3 separate regions of the Homo sapiens genome follow, and regions 2 and 3 are each linked to region 1. Evidence: promoter capture Hi-C in 16 types of primary human blood cells and fetal thymus (Javierre and others, 2016). All regions are on one chromosome and are shown on one strand. The core of a region is centred on a gene start or on the middle of the fragment in contact, and the rest is flanking DNA. Distances in the headings are between cores, read along the strand shown.

What was found. The method cuts DNA at HindIII sites, captures the fragments that hold promoters and counts their contacts. A CHiCAGO score of 5 or more calls a contact.
Region 2: a contact is called between a fragment that was not itself captured here and the fragment with the promoter of ATG10 in region 1, in 2 of 17 cell types (total CD4 T cells and non-activated CD4 T cells). The highest score is 5.8, in total CD4 T cells.
Region 3: a contact is called between a fragment that was not itself captured here and the fragment with the promoter of ATG10 in region 1, in 1 of 17 cell types (non-activated CD4 T cells). The highest score is 5.0, in non-activated CD4 T cells.

The regions. Positions count from the first base shown.
Region 1 is chr5:81,970,331-81,973,580 of GRCh38, reverse strand. It overlaps ATG10 (autophagy related 10), which reads right to left and starts at 1,558. Exons shown (of 8, transcript NM_031482.5): 1 at 1,275-1,558. RefSeq lists silencers at 1,158-1,397, 1,568-1,897 and enhancers at 912-1,467, 1,468-2,025. The HindIII fragment of the contact is 10,147 bases long and covers 1-3,250 here.
Region 2 is chr5:81,442,742-81,446,101 of GRCh38, reverse strand. The region is part of intron 12 of SSBP2 (single stranded DNA binding protein 2); the gene reads left to right. Among named protein-coding and RNA genes, the nearest start is that of ACOT12, 50 kb to the right of the region's middle. The HindIII fragment of the contact is 3,403 bases long and covers 387-3,360 here.
Region 3 is chr5:81,403,675-81,407,022 of GRCh38, reverse strand. No RefSeq gene overlaps it. Among named protein-coding and RNA genes, the nearest start is that of ACOT12, 11 kb to the right of the region's middle. The HindIII fragment of the contact is 5,410 bases long and covers 1-3,348 here.

The DNA of each region.
Region 1 (3,250 bases), core at 309-2,808:
TGACTCAAAATGAACCTGTGACAAAGATTTATTAAACTCACAATGGAACAAGCTGAATGGCTTAGTGTGCTCAAAAGCATTTCAGGAACTGAGCATAAACACTGAAGAAAGGATGGTAAGTTTGATAGGTTAGACAGAAAAATGGTTAATATTGGCCGGGCGCGGTGGCTGACGCCTGTGATCCCAGTACTTTGGGAGGCCGAGGCAGGCGGATCACAAAATCAGGAGTTCCGGACCAGCCTGGCCAATATGGTGAAACCCCGTCTCTACTAAACTTACAAAAATTAGCTGAGCGTGGTGGCGGGCACCTGTAGTCCCAGCAACTCGGGAGGCTGAGGCAGGAGAATTGCTTTAACCCGAGAGGCAGAGGTTGCAGTGAGCCGAGATCGTGCCACTGCACTCCAGCCTGGGCGACAGAGCAAGACTCTGTCTCAAAAAAAAGAAAAGAAAAATGGCTAATATCCTACAAGGCACTAAAACTACAACCTTTAGGAGTACTGTATTTTTTTCTCTCCCACTCAGAAATAATTTGCATCTCCATTAATGAAAAAGATGTTAACTACAAAGCCTAGGCCCTAATCAATATCATCATGCCAAACAAAATATAGTCCCCTAGACATCTAAATCATCTTCAGGTGGGCCTGTTAGGCTCCATTTTGACTCTGAAAAAAACATGCTGTCCTTTTGCCTTATTTCCAATACTTTTGTAATTTTTACCGCCACTAAAAGTTTCTATAAATCAGTCAACTATTCCTTTATCATTCTCCGGTCCTCCCCGCCAATTCTTGATTTTATAGGTTTTTTGGGAGGTTTAAAAAAAAAAGAAAGACCTGTTGGCTCTAAATATCAAGTTATTCCTCCTGATACTTAATCTGAAACTTCAAATTAAGTTGGACTCAGCCACTGGAAGCCCCAGTAATTTAATACTGTTTCAACCAAAGATTTGCTATCAGTATGTGGATTTTAAACACAAAGTAGTTACTACCCACTTCGAGGGTGCTTTGGGTACTGGGCCAGGTGTGCTGGTGACACCGTGTGCGCGACGGGGACCGGGTCCCCGAGGAGGGAGTGTCCTCGCCCTTCCCCGCTCGCGGCGGCCAGCACAGGCCTGCAGTTACCGGCGGGGACCCGCTTCCCCGGCCTTTTGTTCAGGACTGGGCTGTTTCCCGCCTACCCGCGCGTGCCCTTCCTCCCTGTCCTAGGAGTGGGGCAAGGACCGTGTGGGAAGCAGAGCCGGGAGGAGACAACCGGCAAGGGCTGTGGGGAATACTCACCCCTCTCCGCTCGGCCCCTGACCCCGCAGCCCAGCCCGGCGAGGGCGGGGCGACGGGGCCAGGGGGAGGAGAGCTGGGGAGAGGGACCCAGCGCCCTGCGAGGCCACTGCCGCGCCGGTGACCCTACGGAACTGAATGATGGGACTGCGGGGGCCTCGAGGGCGGAGGAAGAGCCGAGCCAGCGCGCCCCGAGGCCAACCAGAAGTGGCCGTGGCCTCCTTCAGTCAGGTCCGCGGCCTCCTTCAGTCAGGTCCGCCACGGCCGAGTCGGAGCGTGCGCACTGCGCCTTCCCGCGCCGTGGGGGCCGCCTAGCGCAGGCCGGTGACGTGATCGGCCGCGCGCTCTGGGCAGGGCGGGGCTGAGACCCAGGCCGGGACTGGGAGCGGGTGGAGAGGAGGGAAGCGAGACCTCCCCGCCGCCCGCGACCACCCCCGCCAAGGCCCCGCCCCTCGCCTGGCGGGCAGCTCTCCCCCGCCAACCCCCACCTCCAACCCAACGCAGGCGGTGCCCTCCGCGGAGCACAAAGGCGGCTCGTTGACGGGGGAGCGGGTTACTAGCATCCCCCTAAGAGGTTGGGGAACCATGCCAGCATGCTTACGCTACAAAAAGTCCTGTAAACACCACAATTAAGCACAAGCACGGCTACCCCTTGAAAACTTACGGATGGAGGGAGAAGTTAGGAATTCGAATATTGACAATAGTACCATCTGTGGCACATATCCCAGAGGAGAAAAAAAAAAAACTAGCAGCAAAATTAAATTGGGGCGAAACGATGGGGATAAAGACTAGAAAAAATGTAGGAGTAACAGGGGTAATCGAACTGAAATAGCAGACATCTGAAAGAAAACTAGCATCTGCTCCTTCTAACAACAGAGTTAAATTTGTTGGAAATGAAAGGAGAAAATGCAGGCGAAGAAGTGAAAGGAAAACCTGCCTTCAAACTACATGACATAGTTTTTTGATCTTGTACTACAGTTGTGTAAGATGTCACCATTGGAGGAAACTAGGTGATAGGTACACGGGACTCTAGGTGCTGTAGTATTTTTGCAATTTCCTGTGTCTATAATTATTTCCAAATAATAAGTGTTTTTAAAAGGAGAGAATACTGATCAGTGGCGACCAGGGCAAAGGGCTGGAGGAAGGGGGTGACTGAAAAGGAGCTTGAGAGCTTCTATACCGTGATTGTGTTGGTGACTAAACCACTGTTTGACAAAACCCATAAGAGGTATAAATTTTACTGCATGTGAAATAGTTTAAAACTCAAAATGATGCGACTAATAAAAATGAACTTACACTAACATTTTTTAGCAACTATGGATATAAATTAATTGGTAGCTGCCAATTTAGATTATCCATTTAATTTTTTTAAAAGCACAAGGCAGTGTGTTCTGAATGAGAGCTTAAGTAGACCAGGTGTCTCCATCAACTTTAAGTATTTACCTTAAAAACGTATTTCACAGATGAAAACAAGAATGCGGCTGGGCGCAGTGGCTCACGCCTGTAATCCCAGCACTTTGGGAGCCCGAGGTAGGAGGATCGCTTTAGCCCAGGAGTTCAAGACCAGCTATGGGCAAGGCAGTGAGACCTCATCTCTACAAAAATTTTTCAAAATAACAATAAATTTTTAAAAAAAGAATGCATTGCTTTACATTGTACTCCATATTTTAGAAACACAGTGCACCAACCACCATGTTAATTTAAAAAAAATTTTTTTTGCACTGGAGGTGTTTTAAAGTTTCATAATTCACATGCCAAAAACAAAGAAACTAAAAGAAATAACTCAGTTAACCTCCATGTACTTCCTCTCATCATATCCCTCATGGCAAAGAATGATATTGGCCTGTTTATGTGTTTACCCTACAACACTATAAACTGCTTTAAGGCTACGGTCTGTCATCATAGCATTTCAAGGTTCAAGCAGGGCTCCTGTAGCTCTCCTCTCTGATCGCTGAGGTTCACCGAAAAATCTACTCACA
Region 2 (3,360 bases), core at 839-3,338, 530 kb after region 1:
TAGAAGGATGCTCATTTGTTATACTCAAGAGTAAAACAGTAGACACAAACTCATGCCTAATTCAATTTTAGTGGAATTAGTAAATTAATGTTTAAGGTGTAGGTTAGAATATAATAGAGCCATTATAATTATTATCAAAGAATTTGTAATGACATGGAAAAATAAAATCTCATGATTCAATGCAATATAATCACAGTTTCATTTGAAACCGTAACACAAATCTAGAAAGTAGAAAACAAAGAAATAGGCTAAAACTCTATCAGTTATTACTTTGGGATGATTAAGTAGATGGGAAATTTTAATAATTATAAAGTATTTTTGATTATGATGTTTTACTGTTAAACTCATATGTTTTTAACTGGCTTGTTGAAATTAAGATAGAAGCTTGAAATTCAGTATCATTGATCATACCAATAAAAATTTTTAATTTTGAGCCCTTTCAATTTAGAAAAATCATAAACTTGATAATTAATACAAAATTTTACTTTGCTTCACTAACTCCTTGGATATTTAATGGTCTGTGTCCTGAAGGCATCTTCATTGAAAATGATACAATTCATCGAAGATAGAATTATATCAACTGATCATCTTGCCCATATTTATGTTCTTATATGGTGAAGTTAATGTTTAATTTATGAAGGTAGCATGTGAATAATAAATGCTTCACTGCAAGACTAAAAAAAAGTTTTTGGAGCAACACTGAACATTGCAGGCAATAAGTAATCTTCCTTTCAAACCAGAAATTGCCACAAGTACATCTTCCTAGTCTTTTTGCATACTCTTTTATGTGTTCATCCTGTGTCACAGTCACTCCTCTAATACTCAGCCAGCACCCCACCCACAAGAAAGGAGGTCCCAGGAGATCCACTTTATTGTAAAGTTTTTCTGTACATAGAAGTCAGACATTTTCCAGTAAATACATACATATATATATATATATATATATATATATATATATATATAAAATTTTTTTTTTCTTTGCTGAGACAGAGCCTCTGTCACCCAGGCTGGAGTGCAGTGGCACAATCTCAGCTCGCTGCAAGCTCAGCCTCCTGGATTCAAGCAATTCTCCTGCTGCAGCCTCCCGAGTAGCTGGGATTACAGGAGTGTGCCACCATGCCCGGCTAATTTTTGTATTTTTAGTAGAGACGGGGTTTCACCATGTTGGCAAGGCTGGTCTGGAACTCCTAACCTCAAGTGATTCACCTGCCTTGGCCTCCCAAAGTGCTGGGATTACAGGTGTGAGCCACCTCGCCTGGCCATAAATACCAATCTTATCTCTCTCAAATTTTTTCTGTAGCAGATGAAATTATATTCTTGATTAGTCTTTAAAATGATAAATTTCTTTTCTTTGTGCACATTTAAAATATGTAGCCCATCTTCCTTTTACCAAGAGTAAGGCCAATACAGTTGAAAAACCATTTGAAGATTTCCTATGTTTAAAAAGCAATCCAAGATTTTTTAAAGTTAATCTTGTGTGTGATTGAGTTTATTCCAACAGTTAAATCTAAGTTAGCAGTACTTATTGTCTTTAGTACACAAGATGAGTAAGACACGGTCCTTTCCTTCTCTCCATGAGCTTATTATGTCCTAGTTGGAAGCAGGAGGAACGAATAAAGCAGTAAAGTATTCCTATAATGGAAGGCAGAACTCAGTGGGAGGGGAGCACTCATGCACTTGGAACTGCCAGGAAAAAACCTCATGGAAGACATAACATTTGAGATAGCCCTTCGATAGTGAGTAGAATTTCAGTGCATAGAGATTGAGAAGGTGTTTGGAGGAAGAAAGAACAAAATCATGGAGGCAGAAAGGTTGGTCACAGGAAAAAACAAGTAGCCTGGGTTGACAGGAGTATAGCATACACAAGGATGTAAAAACAGTTAAGGTCACAAAAGTAGGTTAGGACCTTCCTTAGAATAAACAAATAGGGTCAACCTGAGGTAGGCACTCCAACTTTTTCAACATTATGATATATTCAAATAGATATATTCAAATAAGATACAGTATTTAGATTTATGGGTCATTGTTCACAGCCAACCAATAAATGACATGAGATCTACTCTGTAAGTAATACACACTAAAATAATAAACTTATTAATGTCTAATGAGTAATCACACAGTAAAAGGAAAAGTAATTGCCACTCTATGGTTACTGCCATGAGAAAGTAAATGATACTTACCTTCTGTCTCAAATCAGTACAAAAATTTTAAACACATCTTTTTCTCAAAATGGGCCTACTGGCGGGGCGCGGTGGCTCACGCCTGTAATCCCAGCACTTTGGGAGGCCAAGGTGGGCAGATCACAGGGTCAGGAGATCAAGACCATCCTGGCTAACACAGTGAAACCCCATCTCTACTAAAAGTATAAAAAATTAGCCAGGCGTGGTGGCATGCACTTGTAGTCCCAGCTACTTGGGAGGCTGAGGCAAGAGAATCGCTTGAACCCGGGAGGCGGAGGTTGCAGTGAGCCAAGATTGTGCCACTGCACTCCAGCCTGGGCGATAGAGCAAGACTCTGTCTAAAAAAACAAAATAAAACAAAAGAGGCCTACTACATTATATTTAAGAAAACTGTATAATGTGGAAAAATAGAAAACCATAATTTATCATTTATATTTTCTCAATGTAAAATATTTAGCCTTTCACTCTAGGTTTTATATTATAAAAACATGTATGCTCAGAGACTTAATTAGAATTAGCTAACAGACATGAAATATAAATTTTTTAAATACTGCACAATGTTACATATATTTATATGGATATGCAGTACAGATATTTTTATTATAATAAATCAAAAATAAAGTGAGTAAAAACATTTCATCAGAAGTTGTGCTGGAAGAAGCTGGCTTTTAGTTCAAACAGGAGAATTACATTATTCTAATTGTATACTCTTACTCTAATCTTTTTCTTTCGGAATTAAGCCAGGATAGTCCACCAGCTTTCACTAATTATTAAGTAAAAAGACTATTTTTAAAATTTGTATATTGGAAACTTAAGGAAATAAAACTGAAAAGCAACTGAATCTGAATTTTAAGAGATATTATATATTACATATACACACATACACACACATAGAATTGCTTGAAGTAAAAAAGTATCTTTTTTAAAAAGAAAAACTTTACTATAATTTTTTAAATTTCTAATAATCCTTTTACCTGAATTATTGAAGTGATTCCTCATACCTAATTTATGACCTCAGAATGACAATTTTGGGGTCAGAAAATGACTGTGGGTATTTATTTTTAGTAATGACAATTTCAAGTGTTGCAGCTTATATAGAGAGAGGTATCTGTATGCAAACCATCTTTGATCATTACTTTGTGATGAATTGGGTATAGACTCTAAAGAAATATTTTAATTA
Region 3 (3,348 bases), core at 637-3,136, 570 kb after region 1:
CTTGTCAGCCAGGCGCGGTGGCTCACGCTTGTAATCCCAGCACTTTGGGGGGCCGAGGTGGGTGGGTCACGAGGTCAGGCGTTCGAGACCAGCCTGGCCAACATAGTGAAACCCCGTCTCTACTAAAAATACAAAAAATTAGCTGGGCGTGGTGGTGGGCGCCTGTAATCCCAGCTACTGGGGAGGCTGAGGCAGGAGAATCGCTTGAACCTGGAAGGCAGAGGTTGCAGTGAGCCGTGATCGTGCCACTGCACTCCAGCCCCGGCGACAGTGCGAGACTCCGTCTCAAAAATAAATAAATAAATAAATAAATAAATAAATAAATAAATAAATAATTTTACTTGTCTATCTGAGTTTTAGCAGTTTTTAAAGGAAGAAACAAGAAAGTGTTCAATGACTGATAGAAAATGATAGTTCAAAAACAAGCTGATTATTTTTATTAAACATGATAACTGACTTCTACTGATAAATGTTAGGCATGTCATATTAGGTAGACATTTGATCATGGTAGATCTTGAGTTTGCTCACCTTTTTTATGCTACAGCCTTTTTTTTTTTTTTTTTTTTTTTTTTTTTTTTTTTTTTTTTTTTTTGAGACGGAGTCTCGCTCTGTCGCCCAGGCCGGACTGCGGACTGCAGTGGCGCAATCTCGGCTCACTGCAAGCTCCGCTTCCTGGGTTCACGCCATTCTCCTGCCTCAGCCTCCCGAGTAGCTGGGACTACAGGCGCCCGCCACCGCGCCCGGCTAATTTTTTGTATTTTTAGTAGAGACAGGGTTTCACCTTGTTAGCCAGGATGGTCTCGATCTCCTGACCTCATGATCCACCCGCCTCGGCCTCCCAAAGTGCTGGGATTACAGGCGTGAGCCACCGCGCCCGGCCGCTACAGCCTTTTTATGCTATAATACCATAACAAATGTCTATTAATATTTTTTATATCAGCTTTAATGGAATATTATAAATGTGTAGTGACATTTTTAGTCAAATGCTTTTGAATATTTAATGTTTGGTAACAATAGGGGAAAGCAGGGGAGGAAGAGAGCATGCCCCTTCATCCTTAATTACTGGTCCTTTGCATGCAGGAAATATGGCTTGATTGTTTTATTGTCCACCTCTTCAATCAACAATTCTTAAATATGGTGCATAGTAAGTGTATCTAGGCTTCTAAGACTTGCACAAATCTGTAAACATAAGCAATATAAAGCTATGTTAGCTTGCATGCTCATCCCATCTATTGTACCATTTATGTGAACTTGATTCATCCAAACATGTCACCACAGTATTTTTTCATCCAAACACATTTATCGTGTTATTTCAACATCTGATGCAGGCGCTGGGGGTCATGGATTGGTGGAGAGGCGCCCATACCCAATTATAACTGATTAATTGTATGGCTTTCAAAAATTGAAATAGCAGAAAATAATAATTGAGGAAAATAATTAAATCATAGTCCAACATATTTCAGAAACCTATGTATTTGATGGATTGCTTACAATAATTAACAGCTTAGAGCTCTGAAATAAGACTTGCTTCTTTGCAAGGAGGCAAGTAAAATTGACCAGTGAGTATGCTGATTAAATACTGTGATTTCACTCTGTGTCCCAAGTGATTTACGTGTACATCAACGCAAAAGCTAAGACTGAAGAGTGAGGCAGAAGGTGACCAGGTTAGCAGGCTGGGCTGTGCCGCAGGGCAGCAGAATGAATATATGCACATTGTTCTCTGGAGTGAGCCTTCCTTTCCCTGAAGCTGAGGGTCTGTGGGAGCCTAAGGGGCTCCATAAATCTCAGCACTAGTATATTCCAGGGGATGATCGCCAGCAGCATTAAGAGCTATGTTTAGCCTTTATGCCATACTGTATCTTTATTAACCCTTCAGATGCAAATTCTGAAACAAAACATTAAAATGTGACTCACTCCAAACAGAAAGATGGAAATGTATTCCTACTAAGAAATATGTGTAACTTCTAGAAAAAGAAAAAAAAACCCACAGAGATTTGTTTTCAACATATTGTTTTTGCTTAAGATATATTTTTACTCTTAAAAATTAAGAAATAGAAGGCCTTTTATTAGAAGCAGTGTAGTGTCACAGAATGACAAAGCACAGTATCAGCAGACAGAAAACGTGGGTTCTAATCTTGCTTTCCCTACATAACTCTCAACTGGTTATTTAGGTTCTCAATAAAGTAGAATGATGAAATACGTCTTCTTAATGCTATTGTATTTTGTTAATATCTAACACTGTTGATATCAAGATGAGATCTTATAAGTAGCTGGAAAACTATCAGTGTAGGGAAAGAATCTGAAAAAAAATTGTTAATCTATTTTTCTGCTGATACGAGCAAGTTAAGGGGTCTAATTTACTATTTTTGAGTTCACTTTCCTTTGTTAATAGTCTATTCTCATTGAAATGCCAGAGAAATAGTCGAATAATGTCAATCTTTTCAGACAACTCCAGGATCCTAAAGAAAAAAGCAACTAAGGAATGATGACAGCAGTAATGTGAAAAAATGTATCATATGCCCAGTGGATTTATCCCGTTCACATAACTGGCTAACAAGAATGTTTTTTATGAGAGGCTGAGGCAGGAGAATTGCTTGAACCCAGGAGGTGGAAGTTGCAGTGAGCCAGGATCATGCCACTGCACTCCAGCCTGGGCAACAGAGCAAGACTCTGTCTTAAAGGTTAAAAAGGTTTTTTAATGCCTAGTCTACAGGACTTTTGTCCCCTTTATTGCATTCTGAGCTTCACTATGTCTAAGCTCTAAGACTCTGACCTAATGAGTTGCTAGTAGATATTTCAAGAACAGAGGTATCAAAATCTCAAAACATATTCATATAACTCATTCTTGTGGAGATTATTTGCCATTCTTTTTCATTGCTTTGAAGAGAACTTTAAATGTCCACTTAAAGGAAGAAAGCTACCATAATAATACGGTTGATGTAGTATTGAAGTTTTAGTTCCTGAAATGTTTAGAATATGAATTTAGAAAAAGAAGAAAAAAGATGCCACAGATAAGTGAATTTCACAAAAATATCTTAATTAAAATGCCCAAAGCCGAATTATGGTTTAGCATCAAACGTCACAGAACCTGATTTATTTTGGAGGTAGAGAAAAAAGAGGACAAGGAGGCAGTTGCCAGATCACATAGGGCATTTCGGGAAAAAATCCTTTGAAAGTCATTTTATAAAATCTTTGTTAGTCTATGGTTCATTATAGACATTTTCCCTTAATTGGTGGGCAAGGACTTGAAAAGGTGAGGCTTGTTGGTGGCTGACCAACCTGCCTGATTTGAGGACGCACTGATGAGTCTTCAGGTTTCTGCATCTTTAGCACAGTCATTTATAGCTC